7 separate regions of the Homo sapiens genome follow, and regions 1, 2, 3, 4, 5 and 7 are each linked to region 6. Evidence: promoter capture Hi-C in 16 types of primary human blood cells and fetal thymus (Javierre and others, 2016). All regions are on one chromosome and are shown on one strand. The core of a region is centred on a gene start or on the middle of the fragment in contact, and the rest is flanking DNA. Distances in the headings are between cores, read along the strand shown.

Region 1 (3,797 bases), core at 813-3,312, 390 kb before region 6:
ATAAAAACTCTTAGTAACCTAGGAATAGAGGGCTCCTCATCAACTTGATAAAGCACATTTGGCAAAAAAAGTACGGTTAACATCACATTTAATGGTAATGGAATGATTGCTTTGTCTCTAATATTGGGAACAAAGTAAGGATATCTGCTTTAACCCCTTAAACAACAAACTGAAAATCTGGCCACTACGGTAAGGCAAGTAAAACAAATCAAAGTCATACAGATTGGAGAGGAAGAAATGAAACGGTTCCTATTTGCCAATGCCATGATTATCTATGCAGAAAATTCCAAGAAATCTATCCCCTTCCCAAAAATAGACACTTCTAGAACTAATAAGTGAGTTTAACAAGTTTGCAGGATACAAGATCAACACAAAAAAATCAATCACATTTCTGCATACAACAATGAACGTGTGGAAACTGAAATGAAAACACAATACCATTTACAATCACAGCAAATAACGTGAAATATTTAGTTATAAATCTGATAAAACATGTACAGGATTTGTGTGCTGAAAACCGCAAAATGCTGGTGAAAGAAATCAAAGAATATCTAAGCAAATGAGGAGACATACTGTGTTATGGATAGGAAGACTCCGCATAGTAAAGATGTCAATTCTCCCAAAATTGACCCAGAGATTTAGTGTAATTCCTTTCAAAATTCCAGAAGATGATATTTTCTAGACATAGATAAGTTTAACCTAAAATTTATATGGACAGGCAGAGGTCTTAGAATAGCTAAAACAGTCTTGATAAAGAAGAGGGAAGTAGGAGGAATCTGATATTAAGGTTTAATAAAATAGGTACCTACAGCAATCAAGATGTAAGTGGAGGAATAGACACAAAGATTAATGGAACAGAATAGAGAAAAATATATACTCACACAAGTATGGTAAACTGATTTTGACAAAGATGCAAAAGGAGTTCAGCGGAGGAAGGAAAATGTAATATTTTCAATAAATAATGCTGAAGAAATTGGATTTCCATAGGCAAAAAAAAAAAAAAAAATAACCTCAACTCAAACCTCACATCTTATGTAAAATTTAACTCAAAATTGATCATGGACTTAAATGTAAAATGTAAAAATAGAAAACTTTTAGAAAGGCTGGACATAGTGGCTCACGCCTGTAATCCTAGCACTTTGGGAGTCTGAGGCAGGTGGATTGCCTGAGGTCAGGAGTTCAAGACCAGCCTGGCCAAAGTGGTGAAACCCAGTCTCTCCTAAAAATACAAAAATTAGCTGGACATGTTGGCGCGCGCCTGTAATCCCAGCTACTCTGGAGGCTGAGGGAAGAGAATCACTTGAACCCGGGCAGACAGAGGTGGTAGTGAGCCGAGATGCCGCCATTGCACTCCAGCCTGGGCAACAAGAGCGAAACTCCATCTCAAACAAACAAACAAACAAACAAACAAAAAAACGAAAACTTTTAGAAAAAGAAACACAGGAGAAAATCTCTAGAATGTAGTCTAGAGCTAGAGCTAGGCCAATAGTTCTTAGACATAACATCAAAAGCATGATCCATAAAAGGAAATTTTGATAAACTGGAATTCATAAAAATAAAAACTTTTTTCTTTACAACAGGCCTATTAAAATGATGAAAAGACAACCTATAGTCTGGAAGAATGTATTTGCAAACCACATACCAGATGAAGGACTAGTATCTAGAAGCTACAATTCTCAAGACACAACAGTGAAAAAAAATCAAGCAATCCGGTTAGAAAATTGGAAAAAGATTTGAAGAGAGATTTCAACAAAGAGGATATATGGTTGGCAAATAAGCACATGAAATTATATTTAGCATCATTAGCCATTAGGGAAATGCAAACTAAGATTAGGATGAGAGAGTACCACATACCGGTCAGAATGGACAAAATAAGCAACAGTGACAACACCAAATGCTGGAAAAGATGCAAAGAAACGAAATCATTTATATATTTTGGTGGGAATGTAAAATACTACAGCTAATCTGGAAAATAGTTTCAAGTTTCTTACAAAACTAAACAAGAAACTACTAGGAGACTCAGCAATTGCACTCTTAAGCATTTTCCCCAGAGAAATGAAAACCTGAACATGAATGTCCATAGCAGCTTTATTTGTAATAGCCAAAAACTAGAAAGTATCCAGTGGATGAAGGTTAAATAGCCTTGGGTACATCCACACTACGGAATGAGCTGTTGATGCACACAGCTTGGATGAATCTCTAGGGAGTAATACTGAATGAGTAAATCCAATCCTAAAAGGTCACACACTCTACGATTCCATTTATACAATACTCATATAAAATGACAAATTTTAGAGGTGGAACAAAGTTTAGTGGTTGCCGAGGGTTAGGAAAGGGGAGACAAGGAAGGTAGATGTGGCTATAACAGGACACTAAGAGAGATCCTTGCATGATGGAACTGTTTTTTAGTGTGTCAATTTCAATTTTCTCATTCTGATATTGTAATATAATTTTGCAAGATGTTGCTATTGGGGGTAACTGAGTAAAGGACACAGGGGATCTCTCTGTATTATGACTTACAACTATGTGTGAATCTGTAATTATCTCAAAATGCAGTTTCATTTTAAAATGAATTATTGTAAAATTCACAGCCCTGTATTCTCTGTCTCTTCTTCTGGGGTTATGATTAAATGTATGCACCTCTTACATACATGTCTTACCCTCTTCTGTGTCATATCTTTTCATTTCTCCTTTTCACACTTTGAAGAGTTTGTTCACACTTATCTCCCAGCTCACTTACTCTCTTTTGAGGTGTGTCTAGTCTGCTCTTAAACCTGCCAATTGAACTTTTACATATTTTGTTTGCTTGCTGTTGTGGTAAGAGGGTAAGTCCAGTTCCTGTTACTACATCTTGGGCAGAAGCTGAAGTTTGCCCATTGAGATTTTTTCTAACAGTTCCACTTAGTTCTTTTACTAATCTTTTATGTTCCTCTTTATCACTTTCTTTTCTCTGCACATATCTTGAAACTTGCTTTTTATTTCCTTGTACATAATCAGCATAGTTAATTTACAGTCTGAGTCTGATCATTCCAATTCCTCAATATTTTAAGGATCTTTTCTGTTACTTCTGCTGGTTCTCACTCATGGAATTTCCTCTTGTGCTTTATTATTATTATTATCCTGTAAGAAATGATTAAAATAAAATATATAGAAATAATTTCAGGTTTAAAATGAAGATATTTTTCTCCAGAGAAGATTTACGTTTGCTTTTTTCCCAGAGCTTGGTTTCTCTATAAACCAGGTTGAAGGCTTGAGACAGTTGATTTGATCTTGGCTGTGTTTCCTATGATTTGCTCCACCTCCGGTTCACCTTCACCCTGGGAAATAATATTGTAGAATCCTAGCTTACTGTTCGGAGAGTCTTCTGTACCCTCTGCCAACCCTCCATCCTGTTCTCCCATAGACTGTCAAAGCAAACATTCTACTAATTCCTACACTCACCCCCGCATCTGAAATGTCCTCAAGGCTAAAGCATCTGTGCACCCTTATCCTTCTGTGTTTGATTTTTTTCCACTTTATTTTGGCCTGGTAATTCTTCTTTTGCCATATAGTCAATGCTTCTACAAAAAATTTTAAAATTTTACTCTTGTTTTTCAATTGACTTCCAGGGCAGGGTTGATTTAAATTGTCTGATATTCCATTAACCGATATAGACAGTCACAGATCTACTTTTTTGAAATAGGAAAGAATGAATTATTTTTTAAAATCAAGGCTCAAAAAGTTTTGATGGTATCATTTCTAATTTGATCAACAACTGGAATGATTATTCCAATTAGTTTAAATTCTGCAAACATCCA
Region 2 (3,576 bases), core at 396-2,895, 440 kb before region 6:
AATATTAAACATCTACACATTCCAAAGAAAGGGCTCTCACAGCATCAGTCAGCAAACTCATATTCATTAACATTGTTTAGATATTCAGTCTTGACTGAAGAAAAGTTCTCTGCCTCAAACTGCAGTCTTCTGTGCTACGAGTTAGCTGATTTCATCTTGTGAAGTCCCCATAGTGATGAAAGTTAAACTGACAGAGGAAGAAAATGGCAAAAAACTGCCAGGGACTGTGGGATCCAATTTCTCATAGTAAATTCAGGGCAGAACACATGACTGGCTCCTTCCCTGAAGCCTGCCTGAAGAAGCGGAGTCTCGGGTAGAGAGGGTGATGGGCGTGCCTGGAGAAGAAAAGGGAGAGCTGAGGGAAGGTGAACTGGGCCCCTGAGAGAGGGATGTATTCTCTATCAGCAGAAGCAGGGAATAAGACACAGAGCTGGCGGGGCTGGGGAATTTGGTGAGAGTGACAGAGAGACAGAGACAGACAGAGAACCCTTGGGGCGAGGGAGGAAGAGCCAGGGCCACCTTGCCCATTGTGCTCAGTGCCTCAGGCCCCTGGTACGTTTAGGGGCTCATGGGACACTTTAATTTTCATTTCTTTTAAAATTGGGATAAATAAATGAATATAATAATATATAATAATAAATACAGATGGATTATATTAGCCCTTATACCAACACAATTGTAAAATATAATTATTAATATTTTTTATGGAGAAAGAGGTCCATGAAGGGAAACACGCCCAGGGCCCATTAAAGTCATCATCAAGCCCTGGAGAGAGCCACAGAGATGTGAAAGCTGCCTCGAGGAAAGGCATTTTAGAGAAAGAGATATTTAAAGAGGATGTTTAATATAACTGCCAACAATGGTCTAATCTGAACCTAATTATGGGGGAGAAGCTGTACAAATACAGACAAAGGGACATTCACAAAACAGCAGGCCTGAAGTCTTCAAAAACATCAGCAATACGATCTACCTAACAGTTTGAGGAATTGTTCATCAGTCATGTGAATACATAACAGGTCGAGAAGATTGGATAAACACGACAACTAAATGTAATACAAGCTCTTTGATTGGAAAGAGAGAGAAAAGTGGGAAAAAAGGAAGAACCTGAATATGAACTGTAATGGTATTGAAGCAATGTTAATTTCCTGAGAGAGACATTGTACAGTGTAATATGGGAGGGCATTCTTATTCTTAGGAGATGTGTGCTGAAATATTGTGATATCTGGAACTAATTGTCAAATGGTTCACTGAATACCCATGCATAAACACACACACACACACACACCACATACACACACACACACATATATGTGCAGAAAGAGATTAGTGAATCTAGATGAAGGGTATATGACTTTTCATCATGCTTTCCCTATAACTTTCCTATAGGATTGAATTTTTCAAAATTATAGATTGAGGAAAATAAAATGAGAAAGTTTGAACTAGAAAAAAAAAGAATTGTAGAGAGTTGTGTGGAGTAGTGTGAGAAATAACACAGTAAAGACAGCTGTACTGACAAGCTAGTTTAGACTTCCGTGCTTTTGGAGTTGAATTCACGGAGTTTGTTTTTGGGACATCCATTTGCCTTAGGGCAATAGGAGGATACCTTAAAATTGCCCTTGTTCATTCGGGTTTTACTCACCTTGAGCTTTATTTTAAATCAAGGTGGAGATTTAATGGGACACCTGGCCCAGCTGTTACTTTTTAGAACTTTGTTATTTTTTGAGGTTGATGTCTTTGCTGCTTGAAGAATTTCTTCAGTGGGACCCACTTCAGAGGGAGACACTCAAGATGATAAATACGTCATGTGATGCAAAAGGAAGGAAGTGCTTTCTGATAAGAAAGGAAACAATGCTAGCTGATGCTCCCTCCCTGAGACCCAAAGTTGGAAAACTGTATTGGGTTTACCTGGAAGACTATGGGGTAACAGACACCAAGTGGTACAAAAGGCAATGGGAAACAATGCTGAGCATCTATTCGTAGACAAAGATCCAGGTGTGAGTCACCATCAGGGACTACGTGGAACGTCATGGCCAAGGGACTCACTTTTGCAAGACTGACCAGGACAGTCCTTTCACGTATACCACGTGGCAACAAGAGGCAGGAAAGAATCAGAAGCCTGTACTTAGAGGCGGAACTGCAACTGTCCCTCTTCAACCCAAACTAGCAGAGTGTAGACTCCCAGGGCCTTTCCCTCCTTTTCCCCCTTTGGCAACTGGATGTGGTGTTAGTGTAGGAGAGGTCTTAAAAAGAATTCTGTGTTTTCTACTAACAGTTCAGAGGATTTAAATGATAATCTGAGGATGTAAGAGGTGATGGTATATTTGTATCCTGAGCTGGTAAAGTCGTTTATAGGAGTTATATGTCATATGAATATTTGAAGTGACATCATTCACCATGACTTATGGAAATACCCATCCTTTCCTCAACATCTGCATTTGCTTTCTCTCTGGCCTCCGCAGCATCTATCTTTCTCATAGTCCTGATCCCCTTTCTCCGTCTCTGTTGGTGGAGTTCACATGCTCCTCAATCAATCCTCAGTACTACTTCCAGACTGTGATCAGGATATGTAGACATAACAGAGAGACTGGAACTGAGAATCAAACTGGTATAAGCCAAGGATAAGTATTTTTATCAAGGGAAGGAACTGGCATTGTTTCCTGGAGCAAAGCAGTTCAGCCTCAACTTAAGTCACTTGCACCAGCTCTGTTTAGTTTGGAGCATCTATGATAGGCTATACACAATGCTATCTTATGGGGGTGCAATGACAATCATATGAGACTCTGCCTTTCTATTCAACATGCTCCCCATTTATGGGATAAAGATAGTCATTATAATAATCGGGTTTCAAATCAGAGGCAGTGGGACTGTCAGCAGGAATAAAACACCTACTAGAGAGCTTCTTGCCTCATTTTTCAGCTTTCTTTGAATAACTAGAATTTTTGCAAAGTTCTTTCTCATAATGTGCTAAATTCTGCCTCCCTGAAATGTGCAAAGAACTCCTCAGGAGCAATGCAGAAGTCTCTTTGCCTTTTCATGTAACTGACTTCTAATACTTGCAGGTCACTGTCATCTATGTTGTAATGACCTGTTCACCCACTATGATTTCAGATCTTTATTTCCTACACCTTGTTTCATTTTCCTTTCTATCAGCCTGGTCCTAGATTCTAAGACACACTAATAGAGGAAATTTAGGCAGTCTTAGCATAAGAAACTGTCAATTCAGCAATAGCTCATATGATAATCTCGTGGTAGGTAAACACTTTAATGAGGGGGTGATTGGGCCCCCAGGTAAACACCTGCGCAAGTTATGAACAAGAAGGAGTTCAGGCCTTAGGCCAAAGTCCCATGGCATACTTGAAACCATCCAAAAAATATTCTCAGGTCGATAGTTACGTTATCTTTGAATAAACCCAAGTGTCAAAGCTTTCTCTATAATAAAATTAATATGCACTATGACTATTACCATATATGTATTAATCATCCACACAGCACTTAAAATTTACTGTAACATGTCATAAACAAAAACGTGCAACTAACATATAGGTACTGTGAAAAATAATAATAAGCAGGCACTCA
Region 3 (3,909 bases), core at 1,170-3,669, 300 kb before region 6:
CAAAACAGACTACGACAGCATGACAGAGTAGGTGTCCAACGAAGATCTGAGGAAGAGCGAATTGGAAAGCTCCATCCAGCTTGAATAAGGCTCTGCACATCACCTGGGTGTCAGGTAGCTCCTGATGGACAGAGATCTCTTTAATCTGATCAGCTTTAAGCAGGCGTAGGCAGGGATGAGAATTACTCACTGTGCACCAAACGTCTTTCAGTTCACCCTCCATTGCTAGTAAACTCTATATAAACATCAAGTTCACTTCTTGTGTTCTCTCCTGTTTCTCTCCATAGATTTCCAACCAGTTAAATAAAACCACAGGGTAGAGAAAAATAGGATCATGCACAGCCATTGTGGCAGATCTAATTTTTGGCCACACCCCAGCTGTGAGACTTTAAGGTTATTAAAACTCTCTGGCATTCAGTACCTGCTGTGGGCTGAAGTGGCCCCTCAAAATTTCATATATTGAAGTTCCAACCCTCAGTGTCTCAGAATGTAATTGGATTTGGAGATAAGGTCTTTAAAGAGGCAATTGAATTAAAATGAACTTGTTTGAGTGGGTCCTAATCCAGTATGACTGTTGTCCTCATGAGAGGAGGAAGTTTGGACACAGATAAGTACGGAGGGAGGCGGTACAAAGACACCTGAAAGAGGCCTAGAGCAGACTCTCCCTCACAACCCTCAGAAGAAACCAACCTGCGGGCACCTTGCCCTTGGACTTCCAGCCTCTAGAACTGTGAGCCAATAAACGTCTGTTGTTTAAGCCACGCTGTGTGTGGTACTTCATTATGGCAGCCCTAGCACACTAACAAAATGCCCTTATCTATAAAATAAAAAAGGTAATGGCACATACCTGGTCCCATTATTGTGACCTAGACATTGCTGTACAGATTAAATAACATACATAAAGATCTTATCTTTGTGACAAGCATATGATAATCACTCATTATTTTAACTATTATTAGCCCTATTTTACCTGGCCAATAAAATCAATTCAATTAGAAATATGAGACCTTAAAATGGTCATTTGATGATTGAGGTTAAAAATCTATGTCTAACATGAGTAAAATGTATCTTCTTCACCCAGAAAAACATGACACTTTCTAAGCACGGAGAGGGGAAGGAAAGGTAGGAATCCCTTCTCTGCTCTGTAAATGTCTGTATTCCCTGAGGACAAAAAGCTTCCGTAAGAACAGGCAATCAGCTATTCTGTAACATAAAGTCATAGAACTTAATACAATGGGATGCATGTACAGTTATGTGCCACATAACACGTTTCAGTCCACAAAGAACCACACTTACATGATGATGGTTCCATAAGAATATAATGACATATTTTTACTGTACTTTTTTATGCTTAGATACACAAATACTCACCATTGTGTTATAATTGCCTACAATATTCAGTAGAGTAACATGCTGTACAGGTGTGTAGCCTAGGAGCAATAAGCTGTACTGTATAGCTCAGGTGTGTGGTAGGTGTACCATCTGGGTTTGTGGAAGTGCACTCTGTGATGTTTGCACAATGATGAAATCTCCTGATGATAAATTTTTCAGAAAGTATCCCAGTTGTTAATGACACATGACTGTACACAGAACTAAAACTAAAATGTTAATTTAAGAAATATACCTTGTGAAGACAGAGTAATCTAGTGGGATGAGGGAAAGAGAGCCAGATATGCATTCCTCTCTTCATACTTTGTTCAACATTGATCATGGGAAGAATGGGAAGAGCCCCTAGATACTTCCCTCAACTTCCAGGTGACAAAACCAAACACACATCACAAATTTTGCCTAAGATGATAAAGTTAGTGGTAAAATTCCATTCTTTGATTAAGCTTTCTTTCAGGAGCTCATTTCCACAGCATTGCCTATGTGTGCAAGTTTGAGAACATGACTGAAGAGGTCAGAGACTGGAGCCTCAGTTGAAAGGCAAGATTGGAAGCCTCCAAAAAATTCTGTGACAGAACTACAACCCAAATCTGTACCACTGGAGATGTGTTGTAACCATCAGGTGTAGTTCCAAGGCCACATGCTGTGGCTGTGGCTCCTACCTTGATCTTGCACACGTGACTCAAGTTCACTAATCTGTTTCCACCTTTGTTCCACACTTACACAATCACATCTACCAGATAGGGGTGTTGTAAGAATTAAATGGTGTAATCTATTAACTGTTATAACAATGTTAGCAAAATTGAAAGAAAAAGAAGGCATCATGTCTTTCCTGTAGAAAACAAGTATAGCAGCTTTACAGACACACTAAATGAAGTAATTCTGATCTCCAGAGTTAGAGCCACTGTTCTTATGTCCTATATTTTTAATAAAAACTTGTGAATATTCTTAACACTCTGCAGAGTGTTGATATAATATTTGTGCTCACTTTCATAATCACCGAATAACCAAGCCCTGGGAAAGAGTCTCTGTATTAAACATCCCAAACTAGACACCTACAGGGGCCGAGGGAGGCAGAAAGCATCCTCCACCTTCTGAAGAGCAGTTGGCTGCCTTTGCACTAGGACATCCCCATTAAATTAGAGCACACATGGAGAGTGCAAAGGTCAATGCATCCAAGGCAGCAGTCCCTAACCTTTTTGGCACCAGGGACTGGTTTCGTGGAAGACAACTTTTCCACAGACTGGGGGTAGGGAGAGGGGGATGCTTTGGGGATGATTCAAGCACATTACATTTATTGTGCACTTTATTTCTATTATTATTACATTGTAATATGTAATGAATTAATTATACAACTCACCATAAGGTAGAATCAATGGGACCTCTAAGCCTGTTTTCCTGCAACCAGACAGTCCTGTCTGGGGGAGATGAGACACAATGACAGATCGTCAGGCATTAGATTCTCATAAGAAGCATGCAAACTAGATCCCTCGCATGCGCAGTTTCACAGTAAGGTTCACACTCCTATGAGAATCTATTGCCACTGCTGATCTGACAGGCGGTGTAGCTCAGGCAGTAATGCGAACAGTAGGGAGTGGCTGTAAATACAGATGAAGCTTCACTGGCTTACCTGCCACTCACCTCCTGCTGTGTGACCTGGTACTGGTCCATGGCCCAGGGATTGGGGACCCCTGGCCTAAGGTACCCAATATTTTGCTCCCTAAAATTCTTATTTTCCTTTTGCTCTACCCACTTCTATTGTCTATTGGGCATTTAAAATCACTGGGTATTCATGGTAAAATTATGGAGTTCTTCACTTCAAGAACCTCAAGTGAAATGGGACTGTAGTTATAGCTATTTCATCAATTATATCTCAAATAAATCTAGCATTTAAACAAAAATGTGTTTGATTTAATCACTGCTATCATTGATTTTTCTCATAGAAATCTGTTTTGTGTATGTTGCAGGAATCAGGGCTCATAAATGAGATCTGTGTGTCCTCAGATGTTTAAATGAAAGGAACAGATAAATAGGTGTTCTTTATTTTGGAGGAATGTATTTCAGGTCTTCTAATGAAAGTTACTCTGTGCAGAAGAATGCACATATGTGCTACCCACAAAATTTTCCACACAACTCCAGGGAGTGACTAGAGCTGCTGAAAACCATCCTTGAGCCACTCAGGGCCCAGGGGCCACAGGTTAAGAGGCTTTGCTGCAAAGAGAAGTACTAAAAGGGTGTGCATGTCTGCACCATGGAGTACTGTTGGAACATGTAGACCAGTCTGTGTAAATTTAAGTGGGAAAATAATAGGAAAGAAAAATATGCAAAGTGAATAAACATGTTTTAGGAAAATTATTTTCGAATTCCTTTAATTTATAATACACCCTGAGTAAGTGGAATAATCATACTCTGCTACAAAATAGGACCTCTACCTGTCCCTGTTAGCTGTGCCCCTTCAACACTTCAATCTGAGCTAGAAATCCCCTCCCTTGGAATCAATGCATCAGATGGAACCTGTAAGAA
Region 4 (3,668 bases), core at 142-2,641, 320 kb before region 6:
AATATCTATAAATCAGCTAACATTACTTACTGGTGAGAAAATAGTAGCTTTCCTGTTAAGATCAGGAACAAAGGCAAGGATGTCCCCTCTTACCCTTGCTTTTCAGCATTATACTGGAAGCCTTAGCTAATGCAATAAAAAGGAAAAGGAAATAAAAGATTACAGATTGGGAAGAAAGAAAGAAAACTTTGTTCATAGATAACATGATGGTCTATTCAGAAAATCCCAAGGGATTAGGAAAAAACCCTCCCGGAACTAATAATAAATTATAGCAATGTTGCAAGATACCAGATTAATATACAATTGTCAGTGACTTTCCTTAAATCAGCAATGAACTAGTGAACTTTGAAATTAAAATTACAGCACAATTTTCATTAGCTCCCCTCAAAAATGAAATACTTAGGTATAACTCTAACAAAATATGTACAAGATCTGTATATGGAAAACTAAAAACTCTGATTAAAGCAATCAAAGCAGAATGGAATAAATGAAGAGGTATTCCATATAATCAATAGGAAGACTCAATGTTGACAAGATGGCAGATCTTCCCAACTTCATCTAGATACAACAAAATTCCAATCAAAATTTTAGCAAGTCATTTTGTATATATCAACAAACTGATTCTGAAGTTTATATAGAGAGGCAAAAGATAGAAAATAGCCAGTATAATATTGAAGGAGAAGAACAAAGTTGGAGGACGGACATTATTTGTCTTCAAGACTTGCATAAAGCTACCATAATTAGAGAGTGTGGTACTGGCAGAAGAAAAGATATATAAACCTATGGAACAGAATAAAGAGCCCAGAAATAGACCCCTATTAATATAGTCAACTGCTCTTAGACAACAGAGCAACGGCAATACAATGGAGAAAAGGAGAAAGGGTATCCTTGTCAATAAATAGCGCTGAAACAACCTGATTTCCAAATGTAAAAGAAAGAAAGAAAGAAAGAATCTAGACATAGACCTTACACTCATCACAAGCTCGAAATGGATCATAGCCCTAAATTTAGAACACAACACAAAACTATAAATCTCTTAAAAGATAACACAAAAAAAGCCTAGATGATCTTTGGCATGATGATGACTTACTAGATACAACACCAGGGCATGATCCATGAAAGAAAAAAATTGATAAACTGGTCTGTATTAAAGTTAAAAACTGTTGCTCTGTGAAAGACACTGTCTAGAGAATGGAAAGATAATTTACAGAAAAGGAGAAAATATTTGCAAAATTTGCAAAATTTACATTTCACAAATATTTACATAATTATATAAAATATTTACAAATTACATAAAAAGGCACTGTTATCTAAAATGTACAAAGAACACTTAAAGCTCAGTAATAAGAAAACAAAATCCTTATTAAAAACTCGGCACAATACTTGAACAGAGACATCACCAAAGAATATTTACAGATGGACAATAAACATATGCAAGGATGTTCTACATCGTATGTCATTAAGGAAATGCAAATTAAAGCAATAATGAAATATTACTACATCCCCATGAGAGTGGCCAACATCTAGAACACTGACAACACCAAATAGTGGTGAAGATGTGGAGCAAATTCTAGCATCCAAGACTGGGAAAAAAGAAGTCTTCTGTTATGGGCTGCCATAACAAAATGCCACAAACAGGATAGCTTTAAATGACAGAATGACAATTAAAATGACAATTTTGTATTTGTGGGAATACAAAATGATACAGCAGCTTTGAAAGACAGTTTGGCAGTTTCTGACAAAGTTAAACATACTCTTAATATGTTATCCACAAATTGATTGCCTTGGTATTTACCCACATGAATTGAATACTTATATCCACACAAAAACCTGCACATGAATGTTTACAGCAGCTTTATTCATAATTTCCAAAACTTGGGAGCCATCTACATCCAGACAATAGAATAGTATTTGGTGATAAAACAAAATGAGCTAATAGCCACTAAAAGACATGGAGGGAACTTAAATGCATAATTATTAAGAGAAAGAAGCCAATCTGAAAAGGCCACATACCATTTGATTTCAACTACATGACATTGTGGAAAAGTCAAAACTAAAATGATAGTAAAAGGATCAGAGGTTGTCAAGGGTTGAGGGGAGGGAGGGTTAAATAGGCAGAGCACAGAGGATTTTTAGGGCAGCGAAAATATTATGTATAATTCTACAATGGTGAAAGCATGTCATTATACGTTTGTCCAAACCAATAGAATGTACAGCACCAAAGGCGTTGTAAACTGTGGATTCTAGGTGATCATGATGTGTTAATGTAGGTTCATGGGATGTAACAACTGCATCACTCTAGAGGGGATTTTGATAGCAGGCAGGACTGTGTATATTTGGGGGCAGAAAATGTATGGAAAAATCTCTGTGCTTTCTGCTCAAGTTTTCTGGAAACATAATGCTCCTGTAAAAAATAAAGTCTATTGGCCAGGTGCCACTGCACTCCAGCCTGGGCGACAGTGAGACTCCGTCTCAAAAAAAAATAACAATAATAAATAAATAAATAAATAAATAAATAAAGTCTATTAAAAAATAAAAGGGCTGAAGTCTATTCCTGCTGTAATAAAAATATGGATGTTTTTCATAACAGATGCTAGTGAGGCTGCAGAGAAAAGGAAATGCTTATACACTGTTGGTGGGAATGTAAATTAGTTCAGCCACTATAGAAAGCAGATTGAAGATTTCTCAAATAATTTAAAACAGAGCTACAATTTGACCCCTCAGTCCCATTACTGGGTATACACCTGTATTAGCCCGTTCTCATGCTGATATAAAGAACTGCCCAAGACTGCGTATATTATAAAGGAAAGAGATTTAATTGGCTCATAGTTCCCCAGGGCTGGGGAGGCCTCAGGAAACTTATATTATGGTGGAAGAGGAGGCAAACACATCCTTCTTCACATAGCAGCAGGAAGAAGAATGAGAGCCCAGCAAAGTGGGAAGCTCCTTATAAAACCATCAGATCTCGTGAGAACTTACTATTACAATAATAACATGGAGGAACCGCTCCCATGATTCAATTACCTCCCACCAGGTCCCTCCAACTACACGTGGAGATTATGGGAACTACAATTCAAGATGAGATTTGGGTGGGGACACAGCCAAACCACATCAACACCCAAAGGAATATAAATTCTTCTACCAAAAAGACACACTTCATTCCAGCACTATTCACCATAGTAAAGACATGGAATCAATAGTGAACTGGATAAAGAAAATATGGTACATATACACCATTGAATACTATACAGCCATAAAAATGAATGAAATCACGTCCTTTGCAGCAGCATGGATGTGGCTGGAAGTCATTATGCTAAGTGAATTAGCACAGAAACAGAAAATCAAATATCACATGTTCTCATTTATGCCTGGGAGCTAAACATTGGGTACTCATGGACATAAAGATGGCAACAATAGACACTGGGGACTACTAGAAGTGGGAGGAAGGAAGGGGGAAGGATTGAAAATCTAACTGTTGTGCACTATACTCACTACCTGGGTGACGGAATTATTCATATCCTGAACCTCAGCATCACACAATATACCCATGTAACAATTAGGTACGTGTACCCCCAAATCTAAAATAAAAGTTGAAATTATAAAAAATGAATAGATAAATAAATAAAATAAAAAATTTCTAAATATTTTTAAATGTCTTTCTGTCATGA
Region 5 (3,769 bases), core at 740-3,239, 500 kb before region 6:
CCTCCCCACACACCAGTCTTAATTCTGAGCCTCCAGAACTTCTGACTGATGAGCTTCAAGTTGGGGTCCCCATGTTACTGGTGGTGTAGCCATACAGGTCTGCTGCAACCTCAGTTCTTGCCTCCTCAGGAGAAAGAATTTGACCAAGGGGCATAAGGCAGAGAGTGAGAGACTGAGGCAAATTTTAGAGCAGGAGTGAAAGTTTATTAAAAAGCTTTAGAGCAGGAACAAAAGGCAGTAAAGAACACTTGGAAAAGGACCAAGTGGGTGACTTGAGAGATCAAGTGCATTGTTTGACCTTTGACTTGGGGTCTTATATGTTGGCAGGCTTTCAGGGTGTTGCATCCCTTTCCCACAATTCTTCCCGGGTGTGAGCTTTCCACATGCACAATGGCCTGCAGCACCTGGGAGGGGCTGCAGGCGCAGTGTGTTTACTGGAGTTGTATGCCTGCTCACTTGAGGTGTTTCTCCTTACCAGTCTAGCATTCCTAGAGGAAAGTCATAGAGCAGTGAAACTCCATCATTTTGCTTCTTGGTGCACATGCTTGAGCCCACTTGCCCAACTCCTGAGATTTTATCAGGAAGCTGATCACCAGTTTCAGGTGTTTCTGTCTATTGGGAGACTGTCTTTCCCTGGCACTGGCTGCAACTTATTTTATTATTTATTTTATTTCTTATTTTAGAGAGACAGCTTAACAATTGCCTGGCCCTCACCAGATGGGTGCCTGACACCCCTGGTGTGTGTGTTGCAGGGAGAGGGAGCCCTCTCCTGCCCTGCTGATGCCTGTCTAGCTACCCAGTAACAACCCCTCTTTGGGTTTGATTAACTTGTTGAAGCAGCTCACAGAACTCAGGGAAACACTTATTTATGTTTACTGGTCTATTATAAAGGATATTGCAAAGGATACAGATGAAGAGATCCAGAGGGCAAGGTATGGGGGAAGGAATGCAAAGCTTCCGTGTCCTCCCCAGGGCACCACCCTCCAGGAACTTCCACGTGTTCAGCTATGGAAGCTCACTAAACCCTGTCCTCTTGGGTTTTTATGGAAGCTTCATGATGTCAGCATTCCTTTCCCAAGAGTATAGGATGGGGCTGGGCATGGTGGCTCATGCCTATAATCCCAGCACTTTGGGAGGCTGAGATGGCCAGATCACCTGAGGTCAAGAGTTCAGGACCAGCCTGGCTAACATGGCAAAACCCTGTCTCTACTAAAAAATACAAAAATTAGCTGGGCATGATGGCAATACCTGTAATCCCAGCTACTCGGGGGGCTGAGGCAGGGAGAATCACTTGAACCCAGGAGCCAGAGGTTGCAGTGAGCCGAGATTGTGCCACCGCACTCCAGCCTGGGTGACAGAGTGAGTCTTCCATGGGAGAATCTCAGGAGTCACAATCAGAAAGGCGGGGAATGTTAGAGTGAAAGAAGGCAGAAGAGGGTCAGAGGGCTGCCTCTGAGGCCTAACACACCCAACTTGATAACAAAAGACTGCAACAAGGGCTATGGGAGCTATGAGCTAGGAACTGTGGGTGAAAACCAATATATATCATAACCCCACAGACCCCAAAATATGTGGGGATTTCTCCCGCATCAGCAAGCAAGCAGTCAGTTCTACAGGACACCAGCTAGTGTCCTCCAATCTAATCCCAACACTATCTGCCAGGAGATAGCAGCAGATCTCACAGGTTGAGGGCTCAATCTCCAAGACTTCCTCACTCCCCATAGATACCAATTTTAGGTCTCTGGAATTTTGACTAACCAGCTTCAAATTGGGGTTCCCTTGCCCCTAGGGCTCTTTGGGTTCAGGAGCAGCTCATAGAACTCGGGAAACACTTACACATTTATTATAAAGGATACAAATGAAGACATGCATGGGGCGAGGTATGCAGGAAGGGGCACAGAGTTTTCATGCCCTCCCTGGGCAGGGCACCCTTCAGGAAATTATTCTACAAGTTCAGCTATTTGGAAGCTATCCAAACCAGTCCTCTTGGGTTTTATGGAAACTTCATGATGCAGGCATGATTGATTAAACTATTGGCCACTGGTAATCAACTTGACCTTCAGCACCACCCCCTCTCACCCTCCCTGGTGGTTGGGGGTGGGGCTGAAAGTCCCAACCCTTGAATCAAGCTCTTTCTTTTCCAGTGACCAGCCCCACACTGAAGCTATCTATCAACAATAGCATACAGAAAGTGCTTGGAGATTCCAAGGATTTTAAGGTTGTAAGACAGGAAATGGGGATAAAGACTAAATATATATTTCACAGTATCTCACATAGTGACTTCTGGATAGCAAGAAAAACAGCACATGTCAATCACTCACTGTACCAGCCAAGGGTGCCACATCTTTTTCCTCCTATAAGGGAAGATGCTTGCTGTCCCGCCCCCTCTGATGTGGGTCAGCTGTGTCCCTACCCAAAACCTCATCTGAATTGTAGTCCCCTTAATCTCCATAATTCCCACATGTCAAGGGTGAGACCAAGTGTGGAGGGGGAAAATTCCCCCATGCTGTTCTTGTGATAATAAGTGGGTTTCATGAGATCTGATGGTTTTATAAGCATCTGGTATTTCCCCTGCTTGCGCTCACTCCGTCCTGCCTCCCTGTGAAGAAGAAGCCAACTTCTCCTTTGCTTCGGCCAAGATTGTAAGTTTCCTGAGGCCTCCCCAGCCATGCTGAACTGTGAGTCAATTAAACCTCTTTCCTTTATAAATTACTAAGTCTCGGGTGTTTCTTCATAGCAGTATGAGAACAAACTAATACACCTCCTGAGCACTTGAAATTTTCCAAAATATTCACGTGATGTGTGCACCATAGAGATATTGATAAGTAGCATTAATTTGAAGCTATACAGTTTGGGACTTTATGAAAACAACAATGACTTGTCAAGAGTATCCTTCCACCCAATGAAACAAGAACTTCACAAGCTTTAGGTAGTGTAAGTTAACCAGGTACAGCAACCATAAATGCTATTTGGTGGGTTTCTAATTATAATTTACTATTCTGTCTCTCAAGGAGCTATTAAAAAAGCAACAAGCCTTTGTGGCAGTTGCAGCAGCCCAGAGAGATGTTTATTCTCAGATGAGGGAATGTAGGGTAGTGGTGAACACAGGCACAGTAGTCGGATGGGATAGCTTCTTATCTAGTTGAGTGACCTTGGACAAATGATTTATCCCCTGTGTGACTCAGTTTTCTTATCTGAAAAATTAGGATAATTTGTTTTCCCCTAAGGTCTAATCACAAGACATCACATTGAGGTAGGAGAGCAGCAGGATTGTTTTCAGGGCCCTGCTGTAGGATGAAGCAGAGAAACCAGCTAAAAACAGCTAGGACTAGGAATTATAATACATTTACATGCTATAAGACACTCCTATCAGTGCCGTGACAATTCACAAATGCCATGGCAATGCCCAGAATTTACCTTATATGGTTCAGGGAACTCTCTGCCCTCTTTCCAGAAAGTTCATGAATAACTCACCCCTTATTTAGCATATAGTTAGGAGTAGGTATAAATATAGCTAGCCAGCAATTCACGAGTGCTACTCTGCCTATGTAGTAGCCCTGCTCTGTCTATGGAGCAGCCATTTTGCTGTACACTGTTGCCCTAATAAACCTGCTTTCTTTCACTATCAAGAAAACTCCTGAGCTGAGCTCCAATTTAGGGGTTTACTTGCATCAATGTCACCTATAAAGGTTAGCTATTCTTACTATTTTTGAGTTTTCTCATTCCACAGAGCTTCATCTGTGGGCTCTACATGGTCCATGTCTCACAG
Region 6 (3,845 bases), core at 1,275-3,774:
TGCTCAGAGGGTAATGCTGGCTCCCTAGGGCTATGTCCGGGGTTCTCCAGCCCCACTCCAGGGCTCTGCTTTCCCGACCTTGCTACCGTGATGCCCCGGCCGGGAGGCAGGCGGTGCTCGGGTGCAGCTTCGGGGCTAATCCGAGGGCTGCGTGTCAAGCCCGCACATTGAGGCCTGCGGAGAACTGAGACCCCAGTCCCCGCAAGCCCAGCCTACGCAGGAGAGCGCTGCCCTCTAGCGACTATAATGGGACATGCAGCGCGGCCGGAGCCCCGCGGGAGCAGCGCCGCTGCAGGTCCTAGCGACTGTAGAAATCAGCCCTTTGCAGAGGGCGCAGAGGGCCTGGAAACCTCTGGGACCTTTTCCCAGGAACTGTTTATGGTTTCCCCCTAGGTCTAGGAGACATAGATGCATAGGTGGATTGGATACATCGATGGTAGCTATAAGGTAAGCAGACAATGGTCACAGATGGAAAGGTGGACGGACGGATGACGGATGGTTAGAAGATGTTTTGAGGGCTTGCTATAGTGCCAGGCACAAGGCTAAGAGATTTCGTCCACTATTTCATTTGATTCTCTCCAGAACCTTATGAATGGCATATTACCTCTGTTCCTATTTTTCAAATAGGGAAACTGAGGCCTCAGGCAATGTAAGCAGCTTGCCGCTTAGCAATCTTTTGCAGAGCCAGGAAGCGGGAAAGCGTGTCTTAATGGACAGTACCAGCCTCCACAGTGTGCCCTCGGCCCCCTCCCGGTGGAGAAGAGGTTCCAAGCCCCGGCGTCCCGGGTAGGGTGTCCCTCATCCCTCCCTCCCCACCACACTCCTGGCGCGCTGACATTACACCCGCCCCGGCACCCCCCTCTCACTGATCCAACACCCCCGGACACCCTGGACAGCGCTCTCAAGGCAGTAGGTCTTCGACTTGGGAGCCCCGGGGAGCTGGTTAAACACGGATCCTCTCCCACAGTGGCTGAAAAGCGCGCAGTCCCGGAACCTGAGGGTTTACCTGCTTCTACGCTTGGCCAAGGGTCTCTAACTGGAAAGGTGAAAATTCTGTCCTGAGATTTTAAGATTCCCAGAAACTTTCAATCGTTCAGTTCCTGTAACCATTAATTGAGCGCCTAAACTGCGCACCTTGACGCTGTTAGATGCTGCAGTAAGGAACTCGGAGTCAAGTGTGGGGGACAGGTTGGTCAATAAATGACGACATTCCGGACGGCTGTGCTTGGTGCCCACGGGGACCCGCGAGGGGGCCCAGGGAGGAGGCGGGAAAGGGGCAGGTTCACCGGCCCGCTGGGTCTCCAGCACATTCCAGAAGTCTAAGCCAGTCCATCTATCCTTCCAAACGCCCCCACCTCGCTTCCCTCCCTGGAGCCCGCATCCCACGGTGCAATTTCAGTGACTTTATGCGGAGAAACTTGATCCTATCTCACTCTCCCCAAACTTCCTAACTGCCTTGGGTTTGTCACCTGGCCGTGTGGGGAGCCACCGAGCGCCCCCTGTGGCCCCCACCCGAGCTCGGCGGGGGGAGCGGCGCGCGGGTGCTGGGGGACCGACCCCTCCCGCGAAGGCGTCGGCGCGGGGCTGGCGTAGGGCCTGCGTCAGCTGCAGCCCGCCGGCGATTGGGGCGCGCGCGCCTCCTTCGGTTTGGGGCTAATTATAAAGTGGCTCCAGCAGCCGTTAAGCCCCGGGACGGCGAGGCAGGCGCTCAGAGCCCCGCAGCCTGGCCCGTGACCCCGCAGAGACGCTGAGGACCGCGACGGTGAGGCCCTACGTCCGCCAGCACACCCGGGCCCGCTTCTCCCCGACGCCCGCCCTCCTCACACTTGCCTTCTTCTCTTCCCTCTAGAGTCGTGTCTGAACCCGGCTTTTCCAATTGGCCTGCTCCATCCGAACAGCGTCAACGTGAGTGAATTTGCCCGAAGCTTGTCTTTGCTGAGCGGGTTTGGGGACGTCTGCCCGCCCTCTTTCCCTTCACATTTCATTGCATGGGTTCCCCAACAGCGTTCCCTGGTTCTTCTTTGTGACCCCAGTCAATGTCCTGCCTCCCCCGGCTCCCGCTCTCTCGCCCCTGGTCTGCGGCGTTCTCTCCGGAATCTTGCCCTGGGCCGCGGACGCCCAGGAAAAGAGCCGGGTGCCCCAGGCAGCCTCGCGTTGGGGGCGACCGCGCCATCCCGGGAACCGCGAGGCGATCTGAGTCGCCTCCACGTCTACCTAAAAGCTGTCGGCCGGGAGGGCGGGGCCCCAGAAAGGAGCATTCCTGCGGGCTTTTGCTCGACGATCCCCTGCTGAGGCTGTCGCGGCGAGGGTCCTGCCGAGGGACCCCGTTCTGCGCCCAGGCAGGCTCGAAGCACGCGTCCCTCTCTCCTCGCAGTCCATGGCGCGGTTCCTGACACTTTGCACTTGGCTGCTGTTGCTCGGCCCCGGGCTCCTGGCGACCGTGCGGGCCGAATGCAGCCAGGATTGCGCGACGTGCAGCTACCGCCTAGTGCGCCCGGCCGACATCAACTTCCTGGTGAGTGTTGCGCGCGGCGAGTGTTGCGCACCTTGTGAGACAGAGTTTCCGCAACAGTACGCGGACTGCCTCCGGCCCACCGCGCGGCGCGTATGGCGGTTCGCACCGGGTCGGAGCCGCAGCGGCGCGAGCCCGTGGTGACCTGGGTGTCTCAGCTGTTCCTGGAACACTGACTGAAGTCCTGCCCTGGCTCTTAGCTTCGGGGATCCGCGACTATCTGGGGACCGGTAAGGGTAGCGGTGTCGCCGCACAAACCAAGTTTGTTTTAACCCTGGGAATTCGGGAACCCCGAGAAGTCCTCTGTTCAGCACCTCGGATAGCACTGGGTTCTCTCCTGGGCTGTCAGAAGGAAGATGGCTGTCACCACAACTCCTAACATATCCCAGCTAAGGGCCCCTCCACACGCAGTCATCTTCCCATCTTTCCCACAAATAATGTAATTTTTTGTTAGTGACATTTCGGTGCCTTTCTTTAGATTTATGTTCCCCAGCTCTCTTAACCTCAGGTCCCTCATTCCCTACCCTCACCTGTAAATAGGAGAGAGCAAAGGGATGGAAAAGGGGTACGGGGAGAGGAAGGCGAAATAACCGTAGACAGGAAAGAGTTCAAACTGTCTCACTAGCCAGTGATGCTGGAATTCAACTTCTGTTTCAACTGCCCTTTGTAATAGTAACTAAAACAACAGTTTAATTTGGCTATGAGAAAGGAACAAGAGAAGTGGCCAGTGTCCAATGGGTGACAACAGTCCAAAGATACACTGCACTACAGGGGGTTGGGGAAAGAAAAAGCTGAGGACAAAATAACTTTCATTCTGATCATGGTTCCCCATGGGCTGTCGAATCACCTCTGGTGCTCTACTGAGTCTGAATCTCCAACCTCGAGACTCAGGTAGCTTCACTTTTACCAGCTCCCCTGACAATTCCTTTGCATTGCTTTTGAAATTTGTTGAAATTTTATGGTGACTTAAAAAGCTCATAGAGAATAATGTATTCATCCAAGCTGCTTTGGGTTCCACCTGGAATTGAGGAAATTTTACCTTATGTAGATGTTTGAAATGGGGAGAAAACCAAGGAACAGTTTCCAAATATCTGTGGTATATATTTCAGGTTAAATGTTTGTTTCTTTGACCTGTGCTAACTTGGCATTAAAGAGAAGACACATAGGAAGGTTGTATATTTAAACTATGAGAAAAATGTTTCATCTTCAATAGGAGAAACAATCCCCTTCACCCATCTTTCTTCTTTCTCCTGTAGTCATGAGCTTTTAACCTATGCCTAAAAATTGAGCCAGTGCTACAAATATAAGGATAGATCTTGTGGATAAAGAATTT
Region 7 (3,621 bases), core at 237-2,736, 460 kb before region 6:
TTGAATATCTCCAATTATTGGTGGTATGAAATTCATGACTGAAATAACACACCAAAAGATAGATTTCTTTCAAAGGAAACAGCTCTAATAGAATATAGTAACCTTGTTTTTGAAAAAATGTATAAAGTTTATACAAAGCCATGATCTTAAGGTAGATAGCACCCAGGTGCTGAAGAAAGGGAGCAGAAACAAGTGATCATATTGTGATTATGTAAAACAGACTTTCCGACCACGTAGAAGTTATAGAGGAAGGATCTTATTCCAGAATATAAAGTGGCCCAGAGGCAAGAAGTAACAGTGAGGAAGCTTTTCAACTCTTAGGACATTCTGTGGAAAGTAGAACTCTGGCATTCTTTATTGAAAATTTCATCTTTTAGTGTGAAGGGGAAGCAACAAGGAATGTTGCTATTCTGTTTTTAATTCTAACGAACGAGAAAGAGCTTACTGTTAGAGTAAAGGTTATACTAAACTTGTGAGAAATCAAGTCATGTTGGAATCCGTAACAGTGAAGAAAGGAAACAGTAGGCATGGTCAGACATGCACTCTAGACTTTAGGATAACAGATTGTTCAAGAGTTCATAAAAAGGCTGGCATGATTTCATGGCTAGAGACTCTGGAAGGAAACACAAGAGCAAAGAGAGTTAGGAAAATATTATTTGAAGAATCCTAGAAATAAAAGTATGGATATTAAACAGTTGAAAGCGAGAAGGATGAAAACAGTGACAGAGATGTAGAGGTAGGCAGTCTAGGGTAGACAGAGGAGGGATACGACAGACAGACCAACACACACACACACATAGACGGAGAGAGAGAAAAGATACTGTCAGGGAGACTTAGACAGACAGAGTTGGCAGGAGGGAGAGGGATATGCTAGAGGAGCAGGCAATGAGTTCAGGCCAGCACAAGGCTCGTGGAGGGTGGTTCCAGCTTCCTGCGGTGTGGACCTCTCCCTTAGGCAGAAAGCCAGGAGCCTAGAGCAGGTGATAACTGTAGCCTTCCAGGCTCACATTATGCCCAGGGGACTGCTTCCCTCAGGAAGACTTCACTGCCCTGGAGAGCATTATGTAGTGACCATGACCCCTAAGTGCTAACAGCTGGGGTTTCTCCAACAGCACAAACAACAGCCCATCCCAGATGCGTTCCAGGCACAGATTCAACAGAACATATTATCTGAGAGGAATGGAAAGTTCTAAAGGTGGATCTCTACAACCACAAGTGATTCCAGCTGAAAAGAAAAGACATGGACAACCAAGGAAATTCACATTTAGCTGCACAGGAAGCTCTCAGATGACCTTAGATTTAAAATATACATACAAAAGTAGGAAGAAAAATCATATAACCAAAAGAGAAGGGAAAAATGAATAAAAATATGATACAAACTATACTTAAAAGACAGACTACAGAAGGGAATCCAGAATGAGTTGAAACTTTTGAAAAATGCTAAGGACAAGATATTAGAAATGTAACATTGGTTATATTGATTTAGGTAACCCAACTAAATTCTGGAACACTCATTCATTCACGTATTCATTTGGTTGATAAATTTATTCCGTATCCTATGATAGGCAAGGTAGAATTGAGGTATTTAAAGAATGACATTGTTTCAGTTCTATGAGCTTGAATTCTAATTCAGAGACTGTCAAGAGACACCTACCCAAATTAGTACAACACACAGCAGTGGGAGGTGTTGAGAATGTGTAGATGCAGTCAAGTGCTCTGAAGCGCAGTCAATAAAATAGGGCAATGCGTGATCAGGAAAGACTGCCAGATGGACTTCAACATCTGTAGAGTTATAACAGGAGGACAAGAGGGACTCGGAGGAGATTATTAAACCAATCTGTGGTTGTATTCATTAAGGGTAGGCTAGGGCTGGGCTTGGTGGCTCAAGCCTGTAATTCTAGCAGTTTGGGAGGCCAAGGCAGGAGGGTTGCTTGAGCTCAGGAGTTCAAAACCAACCTGGGCAACATGGCGAAACCCCATCTCTACAGAAAATACAAAAAATTAGCTGTGCATGATGGTGTGCTCTCAGCTACCTAGGAGGCTGAGGTGGGAGGAGGTCGAGGCTGCAGTGAGCCATGATTGCACCACTGCACTCCAGCCTGGGCTTAAAAAAAGAAAGAAAAGGCAGGCTAGGCTGCAGTAACCAACATGCCCAAACATGTCACAGGGTCATGACCATTTTGGAAAGAACATGACCACTAGGAGACAGCATACATGCCAAATTAACTATAGATATGCAACACGATGTAGACAAATTATTTTTTAAGATTGAAAGGTAGTTATGAATACTATCTAATATATATTGAACACTTAGTAGGTCCCAAGTTGTTACCAGTGATATGACTATCTTTTACATGAGAAACTTGAGGATTGGATCAGGTGAGCACCACCCAATGTCCTGTAGCTGGGACATTGTCCTGAACCTGATGTGTTTGACTCCAGAGTTTAAACTCTGTTTTGTTATGCATTATGTCACCTATGTGGTTAAGGCGGATGATAACAAAGTCAGGTTGGAATATTAGTAATTGAACAGCCTTTTGATGTTATCTGAAATGGAATATCAAATGGCATTGTTGTTGGCCTTACCTCATTGAGTAAATAAGTTACCAACTTTAATAAAAACATAGGTAACATAATATGAAATTTACAATTTACAAAAAGCTTGGATAGACACTTAATGTAGCCATATATTATGTAATTTTTATAATAATATTGTGTAGTCAGTGTTATTGTGTATTTTTTTTAACAGATAAAGGAACTGAGACTTAGAGATTGTGAGGAATATGACCAAAGTCACTTGTCTACTGAACAGAGGATCCTAAATTAGATCTAAATCCTGACTCCAGTGATTGCTGCTCTATATACTGGAGAGACCATGTCTGGAGTACTCTGTTCAGTTATGGCCTCTATATTTTAAGATAGTCATTAGTAAATGATTGTGCATAAACAGGGAACAAGAAGAGTTTATAAAATTGTAAATTTAGAATTCTATCACCGTCCCTCAAGTGCCCTGCTTGACACTCCGCCCCTAAGTGGCAGTACTGTTTGGCCCTAGCTCTGGATTATTCTATAATGTTTTGAAGCAACTGCACAGTCAGAATATAGAATTTGACTTTCTTTAGTTACTCTGCTTTCCACACTTGGTCATGCCATCCACAATGGCACACACACACATGCTGAGCTCTGAAATGCAGTGAGAGGCCAGGCCTAGTAATGCTTTCTCTGCACATTTCTCTGTTACATTCAGAGCCAAGCCCTTGGTTGCCATGAATAATGGGGAACTTCTTATCTTCTCTGGGAAAGAAAGAGAGAATTCTGAGGGATGTCAAGAGATAAACATGAACCGACAATGACAGCATGAACTATTCACATATTGTCTCTCCAAATTTTCATCCACCAAATTGTTTACTGAATCCTGAAATATCTATTTGTAGTTCCGACAATATGACTAACTTCCAAAAGGACCGGTTCCTACTAGCTGCCGTTTGCCTCTAGCAGTAGTATTTCTTGGTATTTTATCTAAGCCTAGCGGTATAAGTTCATTTTGATGATAGATAGCCTAAAGCAAATTTTAACAATATTTGCTGCAGTTTCAGTATAAAATAGCATTCACTGTTCAGA

What was found. The method cuts DNA at HindIII sites, captures the fragments that hold promoters and counts their contacts. A CHiCAGO score of 5 or more calls a contact.
Region 1: a contact is called between a fragment that was not itself captured here and the fragment with the promoter of PENK-AS1 in region 6, in 2 of 17 cell types (monocytes and M2 macrophages). The highest score is 6.2, in monocytes.
Region 2: a fragment that was not itself captured here is called in contact with the fragment with the promoter of PENK-AS1 in region 6 in 3 of 17 cell types (M1 macrophages, M0 macrophages and naive B cells); the score reaches 6.0 in M1 macrophages.
Region 3: a fragment that was not itself captured here is called in contact with the fragment with the promoter of PENK-AS1 in region 6 in 1 of 17 cell types (monocytes); the score reaches 6.7 in monocytes.
Region 4: a fragment that was not itself captured here is called in contact with the fragment with the promoter of PENK-AS1 in region 6 in 3 of 17 cell types (monocytes, M1 macrophages and M0 macrophages); the score reaches 8.2 in monocytes.
Region 5: a contact is called between a fragment that was not itself captured here and the fragment with the promoter of PENK-AS1 in region 6, in 2 of 17 cell types (naive B cells and M0 macrophages). The highest score is 6.3, in naive B cells.
Region 7: a fragment that was not itself captured here is called in contact with the fragment with the promoter of PENK-AS1 in region 6 in 5 of 17 cell types (total B cells, M0 macrophages, M2 macrophages and 2 more); the score reaches 8.2 in total B cells.

The regions. Positions count from the first base shown.
Region 1 is chr8:56,835,947-56,839,743 of GRCh38, reverse strand. No RefSeq gene overlaps it. Among named protein-coding and RNA genes, the nearest start is that of BPNT2, 160 kb to the left of the region's middle. The HindIII fragment of the contact is 9,729 bases long and covers 1-3,797 here.
Region 2 is chr8:56,885,514-56,889,089 of GRCh38, reverse strand. No RefSeq gene overlaps it. Among named protein-coding and RNA genes, the nearest start is that of BPNT2, 110 kb to the left of the region's middle. The HindIII fragment of the contact is 3,560 bases long and covers 1-3,425 here.
Region 3 is chr8:56,747,116-56,751,024 of GRCh38, reverse strand. No RefSeq gene overlaps it. Among named protein-coding and RNA genes, the nearest start is that of LINC00968, 190 kb to the right of the region's middle. The HindIII fragment of the contact is 1,170 bases long and covers 1,835-3,004 here.
Region 4 is chr8:56,762,547-56,766,214 of GRCh38, reverse strand. No RefSeq gene overlaps it. Among named protein-coding and RNA genes, the nearest start is that of LINC00968, 200 kb to the right of the region's middle. The HindIII fragment of the contact is 4,605 bases long and covers 1-3,668 here.
Region 5 is chr8:56,944,644-56,948,412 of GRCh38, reverse strand. No RefSeq gene overlaps it. Among named protein-coding and RNA genes, the nearest start is that of BPNT2, 47 kb to the left of the region's middle. The HindIII fragment of the contact is 1,873 bases long and covers 1,053-2,925 here.
Region 6 is chr8:56,444,486-56,448,330 of GRCh38, reverse strand. It overlaps PENK-AS1 (PENK antisense RNA 1), which reads right to left and starts at 2,524. Exons shown (of 4, transcript NR_125813.1): 1 at 1,831-2,524. It overlaps PENK (proenkephalin), which reads left to right and starts at 1,690. Exons shown (of 4, transcript NM_001135690.3): 1 at 1,690-1,762; 2 at 1,850-1,905; 3 at 2,375-2,515. The coding sequence starts at 2,378. RefSeq lists an enhancer at 2,028-2,919. The HindIII fragment of the contact is 3,142 bases long and covers 1,928-3,845 here.
Region 7 is chr8:56,904,689-56,908,309 of GRCh38, reverse strand. No RefSeq gene overlaps it. Among named protein-coding and RNA genes, the nearest start is that of BPNT2, 87 kb to the left of the region's middle. The HindIII fragment of the contact is 2,355 bases long and covers 309-2,663 here.